Regions from separate parts of the Homo sapiens genome. Here region 1 is linked to region 2. The links are contacts of gene promoters, found by promoter capture Hi-C in blood cells and fetal thymus (Javierre and others, 2016). All regions are on one chromosome and are shown on one strand. The core of a region is centred on a gene start or on the middle of the fragment in contact, and the rest is flanking DNA. Distances in the headings are between cores, read along the strand shown.

Evidence for each region. The method cuts DNA at HindIII sites, captures the fragments that hold promoters and counts their contacts. A CHiCAGO score of 5 or more calls a contact.
Region 1: a fragment that was not itself captured here is called in contact with the fragment with the promoter of LINC01011 in region 2 in 2 of 17 cell types (naive CD4 T cells and total CD8 T cells); the score reaches 7.0 in naive CD4 T cells.

What each region holds. Positions count from the first base shown.
Region 1 is chr6:4,001,121-4,007,216 of GRCh38, forward strand. It overlaps LOC124901245 (a long non-coding RNA gene), which reads right to left. Exons shown (of 2, transcript XR_007059415.1): 2 at 1,382-6,096. Among named protein-coding and RNA genes, the nearest start is that of PRP4K, 17 kb to the right of the region's middle. The HindIII fragment of the contact is 9,050 bases long and covers 213-6,096 here.
Region 2 is chr6:2,984,761-2,991,208 of GRCh38, forward strand. It overlaps LINC01011 (long intergenic non-protein coding RNA 1011), which reads left to right and starts at 3,207. Exons shown (of 3, transcript NR_026856.1): 1 at 3,207-3,271; 2 at 4,768-4,973; 3 at 5,109-6,411. It overlaps NQO2-AS1 (NQO2 antisense RNA 1), which reads right to left. Exons shown (of 2, transcript NR_186367.1): 2 at 4,576-5,251. RefSeq lists enhancers at 3,149-3,958, 3,959-4,768, 4,769-5,578, 5,142-5,301, 5,579-6,386 and a silencer at 4,152-4,571. The HindIII fragment of the contact is 2,996 bases long and covers 2,628-5,623 here.

The sequences.
Region 1 (6,096 bases), core at 3,488-5,987, 1.0 Mb after region 2:
AATAATAAAAAAAAAATTAGCCAGGCATGGTTGTGTGTGCCTGTAGTCTTGGCTAGTTGGGAGGCTGAGGCAGGAGGATCCCTTGAGCCCAGCAGTTTCAGGATACAGTGAGCCACTGCACTCCAGCCTGGCTGACAGAGCAAGACACTGTCTCAAAACAGTAATAATAATAATAATAATGGTTTCTCATATATTTGTCATGTGAAAAAAAAAGCTTCATACTATTTTAGGGGGCAGTTTTGAAACATAGTGTTCACAACATTGTATGGCATCAATTTTATAAATATCTGAAGTTTTTTTCCAGGCCCAACTTCTGAGGAAGGTGCACTTCCGCTGAGTAACTGCTTTGCTTTTATCATATGTATCCTAAGTCTTGAAAATAACCATGCTTCCTTTTTTCTGTTTGACTGCTGGGAAGCTCTAAAACAATTTGGAGCCTATCTTATGACATGTATTTTGTGTATTAACCTTAGTATGTGGCTTGTAATAGCACATTGGTTCAGGGCATGAAATCCAGAGCTCCATAATTTACTAGCCATGTGAACTTTGGGGAGTCACTTAACTCTCTGTGACTGAGATTTCTCAACTGTTAAATGGGATAATACCTATGTAATGGGATTGTTTTGAGAACTAAGTAAAGAAATGTAAAGCACTGTGCCTAGTAAACACTATTACTAATCTACTTTTTTTTTCCTGTGAAGAAACTGATACTGACCACACAGATCATCTCTTTCCAATAAGTAAGGTAGCTGTCTTTTTTTTTTTTTGAGACGGAGTCTCGCTCTTTTGCCCAGGTTGGAGTGCAGTGGCACGATCTCTGCTCACTGCAAGCTCCGCCTCCCGGATTCATGCCATTCTCCTGCCTCAGCCTCCCGAGTAGCTGGAACTACAGGCGCCCAACACCGCGCCCGGCTAATTTTTTGTATTTTTAGTAGAGATGGGGTTTCACCGTATTAGCCAGGATGGTCTCGATCTAAAGAAGTAAGGTAGCTTTCTAATATCCAACACTCACTCATATTTTTGAAAAGCCAGGGGAAATAACTTTATTTATATCCACTGCATTTGGATATAAGTTTCAAAATTTTTTTCAGAGCTTTCTATTAGCCAAAGGGGTTGGGAGGGGGCGTGGCAGGGAGAAACGCAGATTCATTGTACACACAAATAAAAAAGAACTTGCTCAGGGAAAGTGCAGAAAACGAAGAGTTGATTTTATTTCCTTCCTTCTCTTTCCTCCTCCTTCCCTCTGTCTCCTTTCCCCACATGGCTATATCTTTCTTACTTCCTTTCTTTCCTGCCTAGCATACATGGCAGACACAGATGAAAGCAACAAATCTACTTCATGAGCTACAAAGAATGCAAAAATGACCAGAGAAAAATAACCTGCTTTAATTATTATCATTTTATTACTTCCCATTTATGATAGAGCTCCTTGAATCAACTAATTTTACTAAATTACAAATATAAAATAAACATGTTTTATCATAACCATCACAACTGAAGACATAATGCATTTGTAACAGTTAATGACTTATCCATGAATTTTTCTCCTTTGGAAGCCTGAAGTGGCAAAGAAAGATATACTAAATCTAGTTTCTTCTTTTTTTTTTTTTAAGTATGGATTCCAGCATTGAAAGTAATCTAGTGAAAAATGACCTCCCTAATTTTGCATCAATAGCCAAATCTAAATGGAATTTGAGACAACAAATTTAAAAATGTCTGTTATGCTCAATTATGCTCAACGTGCTGTTGAACACATTGCTGGAGATTACTGTGTCATTTGTGGGCACATGTTTCTACAGGACTTAAATCATTTTTGTAGAGGTGAATAAAATCCAGAAACTTGGATATTTTTAAAAAGTATTTGTCAGCCAGGCGCGGTGGCTCATGCCTGTAATCTCAGCACTTTGGGAGGCCCAGGTGGGCGGATTGCTTAAGTCCAGTAGTTCAAGACCAGCCTGGGCAACATGGTGAAATGCCATCTCTGCAATAAAATACAAAAATTTGCTGGGTGTGGTGGCACAAGGCTGTAGTTCCAGCTCCTCGGGAGGCTGGGGCGGGAAGATCTCTGAGCCCAACAGGCGGAGGTTGCAGTGAGCTGAGATCATGCCACTGCATTCCAGTTTGGGCAACAGAGTGAGACTCTGCCTCAAATTAAAAAAAAAAAAAGTATTTGTCAAACATCATTGAACAAAAGTTACAACAAAAGAGTTATTAATCAGCAAACTCCTTTAAAATTTACACTTCCAATGCATTCTTCATATTATAGTTACCTATACCTTCTTCATTTTATAGTTAAGACAGTTTACAACAAACTTATCTAGTGATTGTAGACAAGAGGCTTGAGAATATACATTAAGAACAAAAGGAATGAAAACAGAGAAGGGTTTCCAAGTGATGCAAAAAATGAACTGTGCTAGACAAATATAAATGTCCAGATCCCACTTCAAGAAAGGATTTGCTGCCCAGCTGCAAAGATGGAGTTAGCTGCCAGCAACTTCAGTGTCTGCTTCAGCTGCAGAAAGCTACCTTGCTCAGGGCAGCCCACATCAGGCCACTGAGTAAGGAGTGGGTTGAAAAGCATGGCCACTTCTACAAGATATGGGATAACTCTGACAAACAATACGAACCCCAGAGAGACATCTGTGGGCCAGCATCACAGCTCTACTTCTTGCTCTCCCCAATCCTACTTCTTCACTTCTCCTTTTAAAGGTGATGATCCCTGAAAATAATCTTATATTCCAAACTCAGTGTCTGTTTATGGAAAACCTAACCTGTGACAGTGGTCCATTTTATATTACTAAGTAGGAAAAGGAAGCTCTAAAATAGTATGTGTCATATAAAGTGGTCCCAGTTTTAAAAAAATGAACATTGACATACACATAGGAAAAAGTATTAAACAATTTTACACTAAATTTTAACTGTAGTTAACACTGGAAGAGTAGGATCATGGGGAAGTTTCTCCTACTTTATACCTTTGGAAAAGACAGAGGCATAGTTAGATGTAGACAACCTGAGTTTCAATTTTCAGGTATAGATATTAACTCCATGAATATGTATTCACTTGGGATAGGTTAAATTATGCTGTGGTAACACACTTTCCCTAAAACAACAAACGCTTATTTCTCATTGGTGTTTTGGTCTATGTTCTACATTTCTTCATTCTGATATCCTGGCTGATAGAGAATGTCCATCTGCCAGTCTCATGGCAGAAGGAACAGGTAACACAGTGAGCATGTGCTGCCTCATAAAACTTCTGCTCAGAAATGCCACACAGAATTTCCACTCATGTATCGGTTCCTTAAATCAAGTTACATGATGTTGCCTGAATTCAAGTAAACAGGAATGAATAATCCTCCTGTAGGGAAGAGCACAGAATACAGTCGAAAAGTAACACAATCAACCACAGAATTTAAACAAATTACTCATCACACCTATTTCTTAATCTGTTAAGTGCAGATAACAGTACGATCTCAGCTGGTGAAAAGGAATGGAGAATACAGCCATCCTTTGGTATCTGTAAGAGATTGGTTCCAGGACCTCCCAAGAATACCAAAATTTGCAGATACCCAAATCCTTGGATGCTCAAATCTCTGATATAAAATGGCATAGTATGTGCATATAACCTATGCACATCCTCCAGTATATTTTAAATAATCTCTAGATTACTTATAATACCTAATACAGTATAAATGCTATGTAAATAGTTATACTGTATTGTTTAAGGAATGACAAGAAAAGAAGTATGTACATGTTCAGTACAGATGCCATTTTCCCCCCAGATATTTTAGAGCCACAGTTGGTTGAATCCACAAATCTGGAACCCAGGGAAACAGAAGGCTGACTATACTTACAAGCATTTATCCCACTGGATGATATGTAATAAGCACCAAGTGTTTATTACTATACATATTTTTACTTTAAAATTTTTATGAGTATGTGTTACTTTTATAATTTATTCTGCAAGTATTTACCAAGCATCTCTGTATCAAGCACCTTTCAAGGCTGTGCAAACAAAAGAGATGAAATCTCTGCCATCCACTGAAGGCAGGATAGATAGAGGCAGGCAGACAATCTGAACAAAATGAGCTTTCCAGGAAGGTGCAAAACTGGAGGCAGAGATACCTGGCAACACTGAGCACTGAAATCTCCTTTCTTTTGCCTGATTGCATTTATATGAAAGGTCCAGAACAGGCAAATCTGTAGAGACAGAAAGTAGATTAGTGGCTGCCTAGGGCTGGGTGGGCGGATGGGAACAAAGGGGTTGGGAGCAGATGGGGAGTGAATGACTGCTCATGAGTCCAGAGTTGCTTTTTGAAGTAATAAAAATATGCTAAAATTGATCATGGTGATTGTTACACAACTCTGTGAATATACTAAAAACCACTGAATTAAAAGTAAAGGCAGTAATTAAAATTCTAGGGGTTTTTTTTTTTTTTTTTTTTGAGGCAGAGTCTTGCTCTGTCTCCCAGGCTGGAGTGCAGTGGCGCAATCTTGGCTCACTGCAAGCTCCGCCCCCCCAGGGTTCACGCCATTCCCCTGCCTCAGCCTCCCGAGTAGCTGGGAATACGGGCGCCCACCACCACGCCCGGCTGATTTTTTGTATTTTTAGTAAAGACGGGGTTTCGCCGTGTTAGCCAGGATGGTCTCGATCCCCTGACCTCGTGATCTGCCTGCCTCGGCCTCCCAAAGTGCTGGGATTACAGGGGTGAGCCAGCGCACCCGGCCAGGTTTTTTTTTTTTTTTTTTTTTTTTTTTTTTTTTTTTTTACTTTTTACAGTTAAAGTCTTTTTATAAAATAAAGTATATTTTCTATGACTTAGTATCACTAGTTTTTTAAAGTATATTTTCTATGACTTAGTATCACTAGTTTTTTATAACTATCAAACTTGACCTTGAAAGAAAATTTGGTATCTACTTAATAGCTAAAAGTTATGAAAAAAGTAAACATTACCAAGTTAGATTTATCCAAGGAATACAAGGATAGGCTTAGTATGAGAAAAATCTATAAATCTGACCCATTATAATAACAGATAGAGAAAAATCATAATTATTCTAATAAATGCAGAGAAAGCATTTGATAAAATTCAACATTAAATTCATAATAAAAGGTCTTAGAAAAAATAAAAGAGATTTCCATAGAGCGTATCTAAGTAACCTACAGTAAACATCATCCTAAATGAAAAGATAATAAAAGCATTCCGATTTACAAATCAAAAAATAAATAATACTAAATTAAAGGTTCTAATAGCACATGAAATAATAAACTGAATTCAAAATGATGCAGAAGAATAAACAAATCTAACTTTATTTTTAGATATGATCATTTTTGTAGAAAACCAAAAAAAGTACAATTTATTAGAAATAAGAGAATTTAAGGTGAATATAAGATTATTGTCAAATACATTTCTTTATACCAATGACAAATACCTGAAAATGTAATTAAAAAGAAGACAGCATTTTCAATAATCTTAGAGAATACCAAGTACCTAGGAGTAAATATAATAACAAATATGTAAGATCTCTAAGTAAAAACTACAAAAAGACATTAGGAGACATTAAATAAAGACCTGAATAAATGGAGAAATATACCATGTTTGTGCATAAGAAGATTCAATATTGTAATTAGTTGACCTATAGATTTAACAAAATTACAATCAAAATTCCAACAGATCTTTTTCTTGCATCATGTAAAGCTAATTCTTTAAAAAAGCATGAACAATAAGGATTTTTTTTAAAGTCAGGAAATTTCTGAAGACACTAGAGGAAGCTGCCCTATCAGACATAAAGACTTACTGTGAAGCTGTGGTAATTAAGGCATAATAAAACAAATTGGACAAATTAACTGAATTAAATAGGAAACTACAACAGACCCACACATTTATGGGACTTTGGCTATGCCAGAAGAAACACATGATATTGATGGGAAAATTAGGAACTATTCAATAAGTGGAGGTGGAAAAAATGATTATGCATGTAGTTAAAGGCGAAAATTAGAGTTCTGTATCATACAAGATATAAGATCCAAATCCAAATGTATTAAAAACTATAATGTCAAAAACAAAACTTAAATTCTCTTAGTAGAAAGCACACATGAAA
Region 2 (6,448 bases), core at 1,957-4,456:
TAACAAAACAGAGGTTTCTCTCTCTGTCTCTCTTCCTTTTTCCATAACAAGAGAAGCTCATCTTCTTATCTGGTCTGGAATCACTTGGGTGACATTTCAAAATGCAAATTAAGAGCCAGGTGGGCAGGTCCCCAATGCGTTGGGATGGGCCGCAGCTGACTGGGCAGCCTCCCTTGAGCTCCCAGGACTTTGCCGAAGGGAGTGGCGTCCATTTGCATGAGGAGCTCAGGAAAACTGCTCCTCAGGTGCCGAGTTAGAGACACCTAGTGAGCTTCACCAGAGTAGTTTTGACCAGGGATACAACAAAGCTCCTAAAACTGAAAAAGCACGAAAACAAAAATGGTTGTGAACAGGGCTCAGCGATGACGAGGCTACATTCAGCCAGTGTGTGTCTGGTGCCATGGTAGACACACCCCTGGGATCCTGCCGCCCTGGCACAGGGGGTGCTCTGGGAGACAGAGGCTGGAATTGGACTGCATTGCAGCCAGGTGGCCTTGGAGACCCAGAAGGGTGCCTCCTTGGGCAAACTTAATGTTCCCCCTAAAGAGATCCCTTTGAAGATCCGCATGGCTTTCACACAAAGGGCGTGGGGTTTAGTTCCAAAACGTAGGCTTGGGTATTATAGAATAAAAGCAAAAGAGGGCACAAGATGTGCATTTTCATTATGTTTACTTAGTGAAGGGTGGGCAGACATTTTCATTATTTTTGGGTTTTTTGTTTGTTTGTTTTTGAGACAGAGTCTTGCTCTGTAGCCCAGGCTGGAGTGCAGTGGCAAGATCTTAGCTCACTGCAACCTCCGCCTCCTGGGTTCAAGTGATTCTCCTGTGTCAGCCTCCTGAGTAGCTGCGATTACAGGCACCCATCACCACGCCTGGCTAATTTTTGTATTTTTAATAGAGACGGGGTCTCACCATGTTGGCCAGGCTGGTATCAAACTCCTGATCTCAGGTGATCCACCTGCCTCAGCCTCCCAAAGTGCTGGGATTACAGGCATGAGCCACCGCGCCCGGCCCATTTTCATTATTTTTAAACAAAGGCGAGCAATTCACTTTCTGGGTGCCCACCTGAAGTAGAGAATCCCAACCCCTTACCATGAAAACAGATAATCTGTTCACTGAGCCCCAAGGACAAAGCAGCCAGGGTCGACTGAGGGGCTACTGCAGCCTTCCTCTCTGACTCCTCCCACCTAACCATTCCCTCAATACCTCAATACACACACTCCTTTCTTTCCCAAGTCTATTGCCTCTTCCAAAAGCAATGTAAGATCCGCCCCAGAACAGTGGGGAGTTCTTATCCTTTCCGTTACCTAAGCAACCTGAGGGCAAAGACCTTTAGATCACCGGCAGTGCTGTTCTTTGGGTAACTTGATCTTTGCTTATCAGCTTTAATAACTTTATTATACGAAATACCCAGCCTTGATGAAGTATCGATGACTCACTAACTGTGGTGTAACTAATTGTTTCATTCATTCTACAAACTTTTTTTTTTTTTTTTGAGACAGAGTCTCACTCTGTTGCACAGGCTGGAGTGCAGTGGCGCGATCTCAGCTTACTGCAACTTCCACCTCCTAGGTTTGAGCGATTCTCCTGCCTCAGCCTCCTGAGTAGCTGGGATTACAGGCGCGTGCCACCACACCCGGCTATTTTTTGTATTTTTAGTAGAGACGAGGTTTCACCATGTTGGTCAGGCTGGTCTCAAACTCCTGACCTCGTGATCTGCCCACCTTGGCCTCACAAAGTGCTGGGATTACCGGCATGAGCCACCGCGCCTGGCCTCATTCTACAAACTTTTATTCTGCACTCACTATAGGCTGGGAGCTACACTAGGGCCTGGGGACATGAAGACAGGCGACACGGTCCCTGGGCTCAAGATGCCAGACAGATGTGCAAACAAGTGAAATCTGATGTGATATGTGCTTTAGTGGTGCCAAGGATAAAAGGATAAGTGTTAAGAAAAAGTAGCAACAATATGTCTGACTGGGAGAATCAAGAAAGGTGTCATAGAGTCCCTAACACTTGAGCTGAGAATGAGAAAGAGCATGAGCTGGCCAGGTGACACACAGAGCATATTCCAACCTAGGAGACTGGGAAATGGGCCAAAATATATACGTTTGAGGAAACAAATAGCTTACTATATAATTAAATATGAGGCAGTTTAGACTGGGCCCTTATGGATAAGTCACACCCATAAATTTTATTTCATCTTACAGGCAGTGGAGAGCCTCTGGAGGATTCTGAGCTTCGTGGTCTCATCATCAGAGTTATGTATGGCAACCATCCCAACCTTTTTGGCACCAGGGAGGGGTTTTGTGGAAAACTATTTTTCCTTGGACAGCAGAGGATGGTTTCGGGATGATTCAAGCACATGACACTTCTTGTGCACTTTATTTTCAGTGGGAGCCCTGAGCTTGTTTTCCTGCAACTATCTGGCCCCATGTGGGGGTGATGAAGACAACGGCAGATTATCAGGCATTAGATTCTCATAAGGAGCGCACATCCTAGATCCCTTATGTGTGCAGTTCACAGTAGGGTTTGTGCTCCTATAAGAATCTAATGCTGCCTGATCTGATAGGAGGCAGAGCTCTGGTGGTAATGCAAGCAATGGGGAGCAGCTGCACATACAGATAAAGCTTCACTAGCTCACCCACTGGTGGCTCACCTCTTGCTGTGTGTCCTGGTTCCTAACAGGCTACAGACCAGTCAGGTCTGTGGCCCGGGGGTTGGGAACTCCTGGTGTATGGAAGAGACTACTCTGCAGCAATGTGGACAAATAGGATGAGGGTGAGCTGTCAGGGGAGACAGGCACACATGGCAGAGCTATTTAAAAAGGAGGATAGATGACCAGGCACAGTGGCTCATGCCAGTAATCCCAGCACTTTGGGAGGCAGAGGCAGGCGGATCACGAGGTCAGCAGTTCAAGACCAGCCTGGCCAACATGGCAAAACCTCATCTCTGCTAAAAATACAAAAATTAGCTGGGCGTGGTGACATGCGCCTGTAATCCCAGCTACTCAGGAGGCTGAGGCAGGAGAATCACTTGAACCCGGGAGGCAAAGATTGCAGTGAGCCGAGATCGTGCCATTGCACTCTAGCCTGGGCAACACAGCAAGACTCTGACTGGAAAAAAAAAAAAAAAAAAAGGAGGATAGACAGGGCTTGGGGATTGGTGGATGGGTAGATAAGGAAGGAGGAGTCTAGCATGACTCTCAGACTACTGACTTGGACCAGCAGGGGAATGGCTGTGACAATAAATAAGATTGGGAAAACAAGAAGGTGAGCAAATTTAGAGGAGAAAATGAATTTCATTTTTGGCATGGTGTGGAAGGCTCGGGAGAGAGGTCTAGGCACCAGATGTCAACGTGAGGTGAAATGGATATAGCTGAAGTCAAGGGTGTGGTGAGGTTTTGCAGGGAGAGCAGGGACCTCCAGCAAGGCCAGTGCATAAGGGAGAATAGAGAAAAAAAGAACCAGAAAAAGACAAGGAGAGGCCAGAGAGGTGTGGAAAGAACCAGGGAAGACAGTTATTCACAACAAACAAAAGAGGGCAGAGTTTTAGAGAAGGAACTGAGCAGTTTGGGGCTCCAGGTGGGGCAGGAGTGGGTGGCCACGGTTGAGGGGCAGTGGCCTTCAAATTGGTCTGGGTAGGTTCTAATGGGTCAGATTGGTCAGTCCTTTCCAGGACACTGAAGGCTGCAGAGGTGTGACTGGATGCTGGTGGAGGGATGCATGGCGGGGAAGCTGAGTCAGATCCTGAAATCCTCCAAGCATGCGCCTGAAATGACCAAGGGAAATGAAGGCGGAGGCTGCTGTCGCCTGGTGGCCTGGGAAGGGCCAAGAGCCAGGGAGCTGGAGGGAGGAGAGAACGTGCGACCTCAGCACGGAGCACTGTAGGGGAGGCGGGGCTGGAGGGAGATGGCGCCGCGCTCCCGGATGAACAGAGAAAGCGACAGGGTGAGTCGCAGGGCACAGTGTGGGATGAGTCACCGACAGCAAGGCATGGACTCCGGGAAGAAGGGGAGACGAGCCGGGAAAGACTTGCATCGGGGATGTGAGCTGAGCTGCACCCAGACAAAAGCGGCTCGGGGCTCCTGAAAGCAGCAGGCACCGCCGGTCCTGCCAAGGGGCTACTTCCTGCGCGGAGTAGGAGAGTAGGAGACCCCAGGCCAGTCCCAATCCCCGGCCCGTCCGGGATGAGGGGGGCTGCGGGAGCTGCGGGGGCCTCCTCCAGGGAGGACGGTTGCAGGGTCCCTCGGCCGCCGCCCACTCCCGGGGGCGTTCCTTCCTCCCAGCTGCGCCCGGAGCGCCTGCTGCCTGGCGAGAGCCCGCCCCTCTGCAACCAGCCCGCTGCAGCGGAGGGCGCCTGGGTGCCCTCGGCCGAGCCAGCAGCCCACGGTCGGCGCCGCACTGTCCCCTGGTGGCGGAGCGCTCCCGCGACCCGGCTCGCCACGCCTGGGAGGGGTCCAGGAGGACGCGGCTGGGACCTGGGGGCTCTCAGGGTGGGGCCTTGGGGGATGAGGCTGGGGCCCGCGGGAAACCGGGCTGGGGCGAGGAGGCTCGCAGGACTTCCTGCCACAGAATGTTTCGATGCTTTTTTTAATTCTGCAAATGTAAGCCTTTCCACTTTAAGTCCAAGCTCAGCGCAGAGGACTGTTCTATAATACATACAATTTAGTTTAAAAATGTTGCAAATGTTAACATGTGTCACAAACTCAAGCAATCCAGTATTATAGAAAGCAAAGAATGAAATGTGCTGCTTCTTTCTCCCCCAGACGCCCTTGCATACATTAAGATATGTATATATGGAAATGTTACCGGGAGTCCCGGTTATCCCAAAAAGGGTTGTTTCCTGTTGCGTGGTGAGGCCAATGCACGAAACCGAAAGGGAGTGTGTCAAGCAGTGCAGGCTGTATTCAATGGCTATGGAATTGGAAGATCTGAAATCAACTTAGCTTGTGAGAGCTGGGAAGTTTCAGAGGTAGGGTGTCTTTAATGAAGGGGCTGGGCATTAAGAGCACGGGGGGGAATATTCGTGCTTTCCTTGGGAAAGAACGGAGATTTTTCCCGGAATCAAGAAACCCCTTTTTTTCTGTCCCTTCTTGGTCTCTTCCAGTCGTTGTCATGGCGACATGTTGTTTAGCATGAGAACAGGATGATGATAAAGCCAGAGGCTCTTCAGAGGCGCCATCTTGGATTTCGCCAGCTTCAGCTGGTTTCGTCCTAAGAAGGAACTTCGAAACACAGGCATTCTTTTTCCTGAAAATAAGCAGAGTTACAGCTGAGTAGGAATTTAGCTCTGTCCCATATGCTATCGCATTGGGCAGCAAAAGCAGGGTGGGGTCCAGCGAAATCAGCAGGCACTGCAATGAGTAACATACCCAGCCACGTTTATGCAGCATTTTTACGAAAATGAAACCATACTACCTGTAAAGGAAGATATGCTAACAAACAACAAAACTGGCAGGAACCAAGATTCCTACTGACACTACCCTTAGTTTTAATTTTCCCTGACAACAAATGAGGTTAACAGAGCATAATTATCTACCGTGACCCCTTCAAAAAGACAGGCTGTATACATTTGCACTAAGAGAAGAAATCGTGTAATGTCAGCAAATTTCCCCCACTTAAAGCTTCTCTATTTAAAAAGCTTCACGCACACATGCACGCATATGTCTTCAAGATGACCACAATTTATTTTGCAGTCATTCTTTGCACCAGTTCCCAATTTTTCCCACTAGCTTGCAAGCTCCGTGACTCGAGGAGACCGGGGGATCAGAGTTTGTTTTTGCGGAGAAGTGAGTCCTTTATGCCCCAAATAGTGACTGACATAGAGAAGGTACTCAGTAAACACTTTTTAAAGGAATGCCTGCCTGACTGAAGCTTAATGATGTGAGGCTTCTAGTGGGATACCCTACCTTGTTTTAACCTGAAGTGACTCTTCCTTAGCTAAGAGAGCCAGACGGACTCCATCGTGACTCCTTCACTCGCAGCCCCTTACCCACCCCCTTCCTCAAGGACTTAACTTGTGCAAGCTGACTCCCAGCACATCAAGAATGCAATTAACTGATAAGATACTGTGGCAAGCTATATCCGCAGTTCCCAGGAATTCGCCCGGTTAATAGCACCCAGAGCCCCTGCGTTTGTGTCCGGTTGATAACGCCCAAAGCCCGGCGTCCATCACCTTAGGATAGACTTAAAGCCTCTGCACCTGGAACTGTTTACTTTCCTGTAACCGTTTATCCTTTTAACTTTTTGCCTACTTTACTTCTGTAAGATTGTTTCAACTAGACTCCCCCTCTCCCCTGTCTAAACCAAAGTATAAAAGAAAATCTAGCTCCTTCTTCGGGGCCAAGAGAATTTCGAGCGCTAGCTGTCTCTCGGCTGCCGGCTAATAAAGGACTCCTGAATTCGTCTCAGAGTGTGGCGTTTCTCTGTAACTCGCTCGGTTACAAC